Regions from separate parts of the Homo sapiens genome. Here region 1 is linked to region 2. Evidence: promoter capture Hi-C in human tissues and cell types (Jung and others, 2019). All regions are on one chromosome and are shown on one strand. Each heading gives the region's core, a stretch centred on a gene start or on the middle of the fragment in contact. The rest is flanking DNA. Distances are from core to core; before and after follow the strand shown. Region 1 overlaps LOC124904487 (a long non-coding RNA gene). Region 2 holds the start of MYOG (myogenin).

Region 1 (4,418 bases), core at 413-2,912, 340 kb after region 2:
CATGATGCCAAGCAGCCTGCCACCGAGCCTAGAAACAGCCTCAACATCTTACCTCCAGGGCTCTCTTACAGTCTGTCCCATCTTGATGGTTGAAGAGATACTGAGTCTTCTCTGTCTGCTCTGAAAGCTGTAGAATTTTCCTGGCTGAAGGCTGGAGACTGAGCCAGATGACACTGTCTGCTCCAAGAGTCTATGGTGGGGGGAGGGGTTCTAAAGAAGCCTCAGAACTTGCCCTTCCCCTCAGACAGTCTTAAGGAGGGCAGAAGGAGGGACCCTTAGGAGGCCAAGCTACATCTGCTCTCCTAATTGTTTCTATTAATAGAAGAGGTGATAGGATAGTTTTCCCTTGTGCCTCACTGCCCTGGAGTCTAGATCTGGACAGAGGACAGGGGACAAACTTATGGAGTATGGGCAGTTGATGGAGAGGCCATGGGGGAAATATCACAAAATAATCCTCAGAGTGCTATGACCCTGGTAGATCTTGGGGGAAAGAGGCCAATGCTGATCAGTTCTTTTCAATCATCTCTACCAGGCATCTCCGAAGATCAGGTGCTCCTGTGAGGAGTTACCAGGAAGAGGAAGGCTCATTCCTTCAAGGTGCTCACATCGAAGTTGCTGAGACTAATATACAATGAGCATGTAGGTAAAGAGAATTGGCCACGCGTGGTGGCTCATGCCTGTAATCCCACCTATGGGAGGCTGAGGTGGGTGGATCACCTGAGGTCAGGAGATCGAGACCAGGCTGACCAACATGGAGAAACCCCTTCTCTACTAAAAATACAAAATTAGCCAGGCATGGTGGCGCATGCCTGTAATCCCAGCCACTCGGGAGGCTGAGGCAGGAGAATCGCTTGAATCCGGGAGGCGGAGGTTGTGGTGAGCCGAGATCATGCCATTGAACTCCAGCCTGGGCAACAAGAGCGAAACTCCGTCTCAAGAAAAAAAAAAGAAAAAAGAGAGAGAGAACTGCCCTGGGAGAGGAATTAGGGGCAAACTGAGCACAGAGGGAGGAAGGAGCCTATCCAGCCAGGATGATTAGAAATGGAGGGAGAGGTCGGGTGAGGTGGCTCATGCCTGTAATCCCAGCACTTTGGGAGGCAGAAGTGGGAGGATTGCTTGAGCCCAGAAGTTCAAGACCAGCTTGGGCCACAAAACAAGCCCCCATCTCTCTTTAAATAAGTAAATAAATAAATAAATTTATATATTTAGATAAGCCATTGTATCGGTTAGGACTGCATTTGGCTGCATGTAACAGAAACCTGACTACGAGGTTTAAACAAATAGAGGTTTATTTGTCTCTTGTTATAAGAAGTGTGGAGATAGGACGGTGCAAACCTCAAGATGTCATGAAGGACCTAGGCTCCTTCTGTCTTCCAGGCCAGCATCCTTAACATGTGGTCTTTATCCTCTTGGTTATAAATTGGCTACTCTACCCCCAGGCTTAGACTTTCCAGGGAGCAAGAAGGGGAAAAACAAAACACACATGCCAGACACAGGCCAGCTGTCTCTTCCTTTTTTATTTTAAGGAAATTAAAAGATAAAAATAAATATTAAAAAATAGCTGGGCATGGTGCCGTGTGCCTGTAGTCCCAGCTACTTGGAAGGCTGAGGTGGGAGGATTGTTTGAGCCCAGAAGTTTGAGGCTGCAGTGAGCCGAGATCATGCCACTGCACTCCAGCCTGGGTGACAGAGCGAGACCCTGTCTCCAAAATAAGTAAATACATAAATCCCATTGGCTAGAACTGTGTTACATTATCACTTCTAGCAACGAGGGAGCCTGGAAGCAATATTTTTAGGATGGCATATTGATCTCCCTTCCTTAAACAAAATCAATGGACTGTAAATGAAGAAGGGGAGAAGAGATGAAGGTTATGCAACAAGCAATGTCTGCCATGGCCCTAAAGAATGAGTAGAATATGCTGGACGATGTGGGGAAGGACTTCCAGGCAGGGGAAACAGCAAGAGCAAAATCTCAGTGTGGGATGGGAGGGTGCCAGGTGTGTTTGGGGAATTGGAAACAGCCCAATTGGAGCAGACGATGTCATCTAGTTCAGTTGGAGCTTAGTGGGAAGGATGGACAGGGCAGTTTGCATGGCCTGGGTTTGTGGACTTGCCCTCCTGCCCAAACTCATACTCTGTGGTGCAGTGGATCAGGTGATGGGGGACCAGTAACAGCAGACAGTGAGCAACATCTGAAAAAGTCAGGTTCAGCTGCAACAGTAGACAGTGATTGGAATTCAGAGAAAAGCAAACTATGACACATCTCCTGACAGCCTGGCAATGACAGGCACAGGGCAGAAGCCTGCTGGCCTGGACTGATGGGCACACTCAAGCCAAAACAGACCCCCGCAAGATAACCTATTGTCCTGAGTAAACAGCTGAATGAGATCCATGCAGCAGCCTCTTGTCTAAGGTCTGTTTATTATTGTTATTCTCCCTCCCCACGTCTGTCTTCTCTGTCTCAGCTCTTCCAGGCTGCAGTAACCAGCTGCAGGATCATGCAGAGCAGACAGGCTGTGCAAAGGGGTTGGTGTGGAGGGTGCAGATTCCAGCTCTAGGGTGTGTGACAGCTCTTTATTTGACTCTTCCTGGAAGTTCCTGAGATGACCTCTATACAAAGAGAGGGGAGGGGGCTGCAGCTACCCTATGCTGTACCTACATCATAGATTCCCAGCTTCCTTGACTGGGAGGCACTTCAGAGGTCTTGGACTCCATCTGTCTACCATCAGCAAACCTATCTAAACTGCTGGCTCTGAAGCTTAATGTACATATGAGTCACCTCACCTTGTGAGCTTATTAAGAATACATTTCCTTTTCTAGCTCTTGGGAACTTGGTAAGGAAAGAAAAAAGAATACATTTCCAAGGCTCATCCCCAAGGACTCTGATTCCCTAGCTCTGTGGAGTCTAGGAATCTGCATTTTACCAAGGCACACAGGAGAGTCTGATGCGATTGGTTGGTTCTCAGCCACGCTGTTTTAAAAAACTTTTCACAAATATATATCCCTAGGTTTCAGTTCCAGTTCTGCCACTAACTATGATCTTAGACAATTCATTTTACCTCTCTGAATCTGTTTCTTCACCTAAAAATGAAAAACCTTTTCAGTTTAAATCATTTTTTGTTAACATTCTCAGGCAGTTACACTTCAGCATCATTTTAGGTGGGTAATTCTCAAATAGGTTTTCATGTGGGGTGTTTGTTCTCTGAGAAGAGCCTCCTGGAGATTCTGAGTGCCCTGCCATGGGGCTTGCCCACTTCCCTTTCCTAGATTTCAGAACACTTCAAATCGCCACATTCATGCCATTCCATAGCAGTTTAGATTTGTCATTTGTGCCTCAATAGCAGTCCACGAGGGTCTGAGCCCAGAACCTGGACTCATGTTTGGTTGCTGATTCTAATTTCTGTTCCCCCAGATGGAATCCCTCACCTTCCCTTGGGAACCACTTTCTGTGTGGACTTTCCTCAGTGCGGCTCATTTCTTCCTGCTGGCCTCTGAGGCGGTGGGATCAACAGGTCAATGTCTTGCTCCACATCTGTCACGGGGCTTCTGGCCTCCCCTCAGCCTCCCCTTTCTTCTTCTGTCCCCTTCTGACCTCTGTGTCCTTCGCATTACTTTTTGGGGACCTTCTTCAGTTTCTCACATGTTATTAAAGGCCAGGACCAAGGAGTTAGGGGCTAGGAGGGGTAGAGCATTATTTAAGAGGCAGGGAGTAAGGTTCTAATACCACTTTGATCAGCCCCCATCCAATCAGTTCTTGGTTTCTGGAAAAGTGCAATCCCTTCGATTCATGGGGTGCTAGGGCTACAATGTGCCAGGTCTGTCCTGCAGACCCCGGCTGACAGATGAAATGAGTACTCAGACATAGGTATGCAATGTAAGAGCAGCCAGAGGACTGCCTGGTGCAAGTGGCCAGAGCGCAGCCCTGGGAAGCTGGAGCTGCTTGCTTTTATTCAGGGCAGGTGCAATGCTGAAAACCTGGAGCCAACACAACCTGAAGGTAATTAACATTTATTGTTCCCCTTTCAGGGAACTTCACATGCAGGGATGATCAAAGGTCAGTTCCTGGTCAACATAACAAGATTGTTTAAGATCAATTCCCCCCACACTCCCTTGTATCTACTCCTTGCCCTCTGTCTCAGGGTTATAGAACAGCTGCTTCCAGCTATTCTCCCCAGGGGCTCTGCAGACCCTTCCAACCTTTCAGAAGGTTTGTGTCCTTTCCCTATAGTTTTTCCCACCACTCTGAGTGATCCCCTACATCTCTCCCTTTTCTGTTTTTTGCATCAGGTTTAGTTGATTGAAGCGTACAGATGTGTGCAGCGACAGGTTTGACAGGTGCAGCGGTTACAGCTTGTGTTCCAGCTTTGCATCCTTACAAGAGTTGCAATGTACAACAGACAGCATAGCAAGGAACAGAT
Region 2 (4,487 bases), core at 1,428-3,927:
TTACAAACAACACACGAAACAAAACAAAACATAAAACCACTGGAAGGTTCCCAATATTCACTGCAAAAGTTTGGCCCCCCAGGGACTTGGGAACAGAGGGCTGTTCCTCTCCCCTTCTTCTCTCTCAATTCAGGGCAGGCCCAGCCCAGCCACTGGCATCGGGAAGAGACCAGAACAGGAGACGTGCACAGCTTGTCCAGGTCAGGGCACTGCGTCTCTCAAACCGTTTCACTTGGGGGGTGGAATTAGAGGCCGCGTTATGATAAAAAGGAAGCTCCTGAGTTTGCCCCCTGAGCTGGGGCATACACGAGGGGGCGCTCTGGTCCCCTGCTTTACCTCCCTGGAAAGGGGATGCCCTCTCCTCTAAGGAGGCAGCTGAATGAGGGCGTCCAGTCCCTTGCTGGGGGGTGGGTTAACCTTACATGGATGAGGAAGGGGATAGTCTGGCCTATGGCACCCCAGAGCTGGCTTCCTAGCATCAGGGCAGCCTGGCTTAGGAGGCCCCTGCTACAGAAGTAGTGGCATCTGTGGCCAGCTTGGGGGGCTCGCAAGGATGCCCGGCTTGGAAGACAATCTCAGTTGGGCATGGTTTCATCTGGGAAGGCCACAGACACATCTTCCACTGTGATGCTGTCCACGATGGAGGTGAGGGAGTGCAGGTTGTGGGCATCTGTAGGGTCAGCCGTGAGCAGATGATCTGTAAGGGGAGGTGGGAAGGTGGTACCTGGGTGAGCAGTGGGGGTTCTTGAGGCCCAGAATAGAGGATGGGACCCTTGGGGTGACAGAGGTTTTCCAGGACAGATGAATGACAAAGCTCCGGAGTTCTACTCCCTAGTCCCTGCCTTTCCCCATGCTCTGTGAGTGTGTGTGTGTGTGTGTGTGTGTGTGTGTGTGTGTGTATGCGCCTCTTTTCTGAACTCCCCTAGTAGGTAGGGTTTGGAAGCAGCCACTCAAGTTGGAGCAGGATGGAGCTCCCCAGAGACTGGACCTGCCCTTTGCTCGGCCCAGTTTTGCAGCACTGACTCAGCACTTCACAGGGACCCCTGGGGCAGGGACATTGTCCTCTCTGTGGAGAAGGTCAACCACCAGGCATCAGCTGGGGAGCTGCAGGAGCTACTATCACTCCTTTGCTGGTCAAGACTGCAGGGGCACACAGAACCTCCCAGCCCACCCTTTGGGCCTTGGAGTCAGCAGGTCCCTAGAGAGACCCAAGGGAAGAGGACCGGAGCAAGGAATAAGGTAAGAGGGGAGAACCTGGCCCAGGGAGGGACTGAGGGATTGGAGCCAAGGTTACCAGTCAGGCCTTACTTACCCCCTGGGTTGGCGCTGAACTCCAGTGCACTGCCCCACTCTGGACTGCAGGAGGCGCTGTGAGAGCTGCATTCGCTGGGCACCTGCAAGACAGGGCGAAGGCCCAAGGTCGGGGCACAGCCATTCTTTGATGTCTCTCTCTGCCTAGTCCCAGTGGGCAGAAGTACCTGTGGTGGGGTTGGAGGGTGGGCCACAGGCTGTGGCCTTCCAGCCCAGGCCATCCCCAACCCCAGAATCTTTGTAACTAGCTCCTCTCACACCCCAGAGGCCCTGCTTCCAGGCCTTCCTGGCTTCCATCCTGGGTGGTGGTTCTGCTCTCACAGGACACCAGCTTAAAGGGGTCCCTGGTTCTCCTGACTCTGGCGATAAGGGTGATGGAGACAGATTTTGTGGCCCAGTGAAGGTCGCTCTGTGCAGGCCTGCTGGAGTTCCAATGAGACTGAGTGGGTTTTCTCTCTGCTCAGCCACACCCAGGATGGGGGCAAAGCAGTCTTCTCTGGTGAACTTGGCCTGGCCTTTTAGGCTCTGACTCAGGCGCTGGGATTAATCCTCACCCTCACCTGGGCTGACTGTGGCCTTGCTCCTGATCTTTCTTCAGTCCTATGTTCCCCACCCCAACCCCTTCTGCACTTCCTCCCCACTGCCTTTATCTTGTCTGGAAAGAACACAGGACACAGGAGGTCAGCTGGATAGCCCAGCTCTGACCAGGGAAGGGCTCCTGCAGCCCCTCGACCCTGTCTGGCACCTGCACCAACCCTCTGAGCCCCTCTTGGGGTCTTGAGGCTGTCCAGGTGCCTCCCTCTGGCCCCGTCCCCTTGGGGCAGGGGGATGGGATGGCCACTTACCCCTGGCTGGGGCCCGCCCCCGCCCCGGTAGCGGAGGTCACGCTCCTCCTGGTTGAGGGAGCTGAGCAGGGCCTGGAGGCGCTCGATGTACTGGATGGCACTGCGCAGGATCTCCACCTTGGGCAGCCGCTGGTTGGGGTTGAGCAGGGTGCTTCTCTTCAGGGCCTCGAAGGCCTCATTCACCTTCTTGAGCCTGCGCTTCTCCCTCAGTGTGGCCGCCCGCCGCCGGTCCACGGACACCGACTTCCTCTTACACACCTTACACGCCCACGGCAGGCACTGGCCTGGACAGTGCTCGGGGGTCCCCAGCCCCTTGTCCTCAAGGGGCCCTGGGGCCTCGGGGCTCAGGGTGAGCTCCGTCCGCTCGTAGCCTGGTGGTTCGAAGCCCTGGAGGTGGACAGGCAGGTAGTTTTCCCCATCATAGAAGCGGGGTTCCTGGTAGAAGTAGGGGGATGTCTCATACAGCTCCATGGGGTCGGAAAAGGCTTGTTCCTGCCACCAGCCCCCAAGCTCCAGCAGCCCCTCACGCCAACTGCTGGGTGCCATTTAAACCCTCCCCGCTGGCATGGAACCAGAGATAAATATAGCCAACGCCACAGAAACCTGAGCCCCCTCTAAGCTGTTGCTGCACATCAAGGCGTTTACAGTGGATTAGATGTGATTCCCCTTCTTTCTCCCGCATGGCCCCCACCCCACCCTGCCAGCCTGCCCCTGGCCCAGGCGGGCTCCTGTGCACGGGTCGGGAGGCCGTCGGGTGTAATTTGATTAGTTTTCATTTCTCAGCAGCCCCTGTGGGGCAGGGGCGTTGGGGGAGGACACATTCCCCTCTCATCTGCTCCTTTCAATTACTCCTAGCTGGGCGGCCTGCCTGCTGTCTCCTTGCAGTCCCGAAGAAGCTGGTGGGTATAGGGGGAGGAGGGAACAAGGAAGGGTAGGCTTAGGCTGGAAGGGGCCTTAAGAGCCAACTTATCCATCTCCTTGCTTCCTGACAGCACCTTAACCACACTACATCAGTCGATGAGACTCTTTTAAAGACTTCCCTCCGGAAAGAATGGGACTGCTTCAGATTCTGGGCATTCATGGGCACTCAGTATCCAGGGATAAGAAGGATCAAGACTCAGAGCAGCTAACAGATTCCACTTTTGGGGTTCCCAAGCAGCTTTGAGCTGTATGTTCTCTTAGGTCTCATCTGGGGGGGTAAATTGAGGCAAGAGAAATTATTTGGGTTTTGGTTTTCTTGGCAGGGGTAAAGAGAAATTTCCTCTTTAATACAGCAGCCGTGGTCAGAGCAGAGATTAGAATTTACAGCCTACACGTTGCCACCTTCCCCAGAGCGGCAAGGTCAAGATGTCCTAAGCTCCCTGTCTCCTCCCTGTCTCACTCCGGACCATTGATCTGTCCTTCTATGTTACCTCCTCAACTCTTTTTCCAACACCAGAATTTTCCTGGCTCATTAATGTGGACGGGGGTGAAAAAGTAGAAAAAACAGAGCCCTTCAAACTCAGTTTAAATCTCCTCTCTCCTTGGCCACCGGGCTTGGTTGTTCTGCCTCTTACTGTCTGAGCCATCAATTTTACACGTATCATGCAGGTCTCAAATGTCAGGTAGAGCAGGGACTATTTAATCTTCAGGCCTCTCAGGCCATGGTCACCTCTCAGTAGGTGCCTCAGGGTCTGAGAGGACAAATTCCTTCCAATGCAGTGGGCAGACCTTAGACACTAGCAGTGAACAAGGCTCAGTCTTAGGGCTGGGGATTATAGGGACACCCCAGACAGGATCCCTGCCCTCGAACTTACCATCTGATAGACAACGGTGATCACCTCTTTCTACCTAGCCCCTGATGCCCAAATCTCCTCCGAGGCGGCTACTGTTCAGCTTCTGCTCACGTCAGGAGACAGCCCGTTCCATTGACGTGTAGCTTTGGGCTGCAATCTGCTCCCTCTATCTTTTATCCTTTGTTCCCAGTTTTTTCCTCCCCATAGACTAATGTCCTGCTCCTTATCCTACGACAGATCAAACTGACAAGTTCAAGCCAGTGGCAAGGACAATAAGAGGAAGGGGAACCCTGCTGGGGACTCATGGGAGACTTCACAGGGAACATGAGATCTGCGAGGCATGTGAAGAACCAGTGTTCCTTCCTCTCATTATTCACAGCAGGGAGCCAGGAGAATTCTGATGTCCTTTTGGGACAGGAAATGGAGGGAAGGAGGGAACATAGCTGGACAACAAAAGAACCCTAAGCATGTTGAGGGAGAGCAGTGAGGTCTTAATTCTGTTCTTGGCCTTACCAGCATGATAGAAAGTAGCAGCATAGGCCGGGCGTGGTGGCTC

What was found. Contacts are between HindIII fragments. The study calls those that stand out against the background at their distance.
Region 1: a contact is called between a fragment that was not itself captured here and the fragment with the promoter of MYOG in region 2, in 1 of the 25 tissues and cell types used here (thymus).

The regions. Positions count from the first base shown.
Region 1 is chr1:203,423,054-203,427,471 of GRCh38, forward strand. LOC124904487 (a long non-coding RNA gene) reads right to left here. Exons shown (of 2, transcript XR_007066805.1): 2 at 3,993-4,418. Among named protein-coding and RNA genes, the nearest start is that of BMNCR, 18 kb to the left of the region's middle. The HindIII fragment of the contact is 5,786 bases long and covers 1-4,418 here.
Region 2 is chr1:203,083,335-203,087,821 of GRCh38, forward strand. MYOG (myogenin) reads right to left here and starts at 2,678. Exons shown (of 3, transcript NM_002479.6): 1 at 2,157-2,678; 2 at 1,313-1,394; 3 at 1-697. The coding sequence starts at 2,627. The coding sequence ends at 576. It overlaps MYOPARR (myogenin promoter associated myogenic regulatory antisense long non coding RNA), which reads left to right and starts at 461. Exons shown (of 3, transcript NR_160550.1): 1 at 461-645; 2 at 1,038-1,239; 3 at 3,149-4,487. RefSeq lists an enhancer at 3,997-4,487. The HindIII fragment of the contact is 26,934 bases long and covers 1-4,487 here.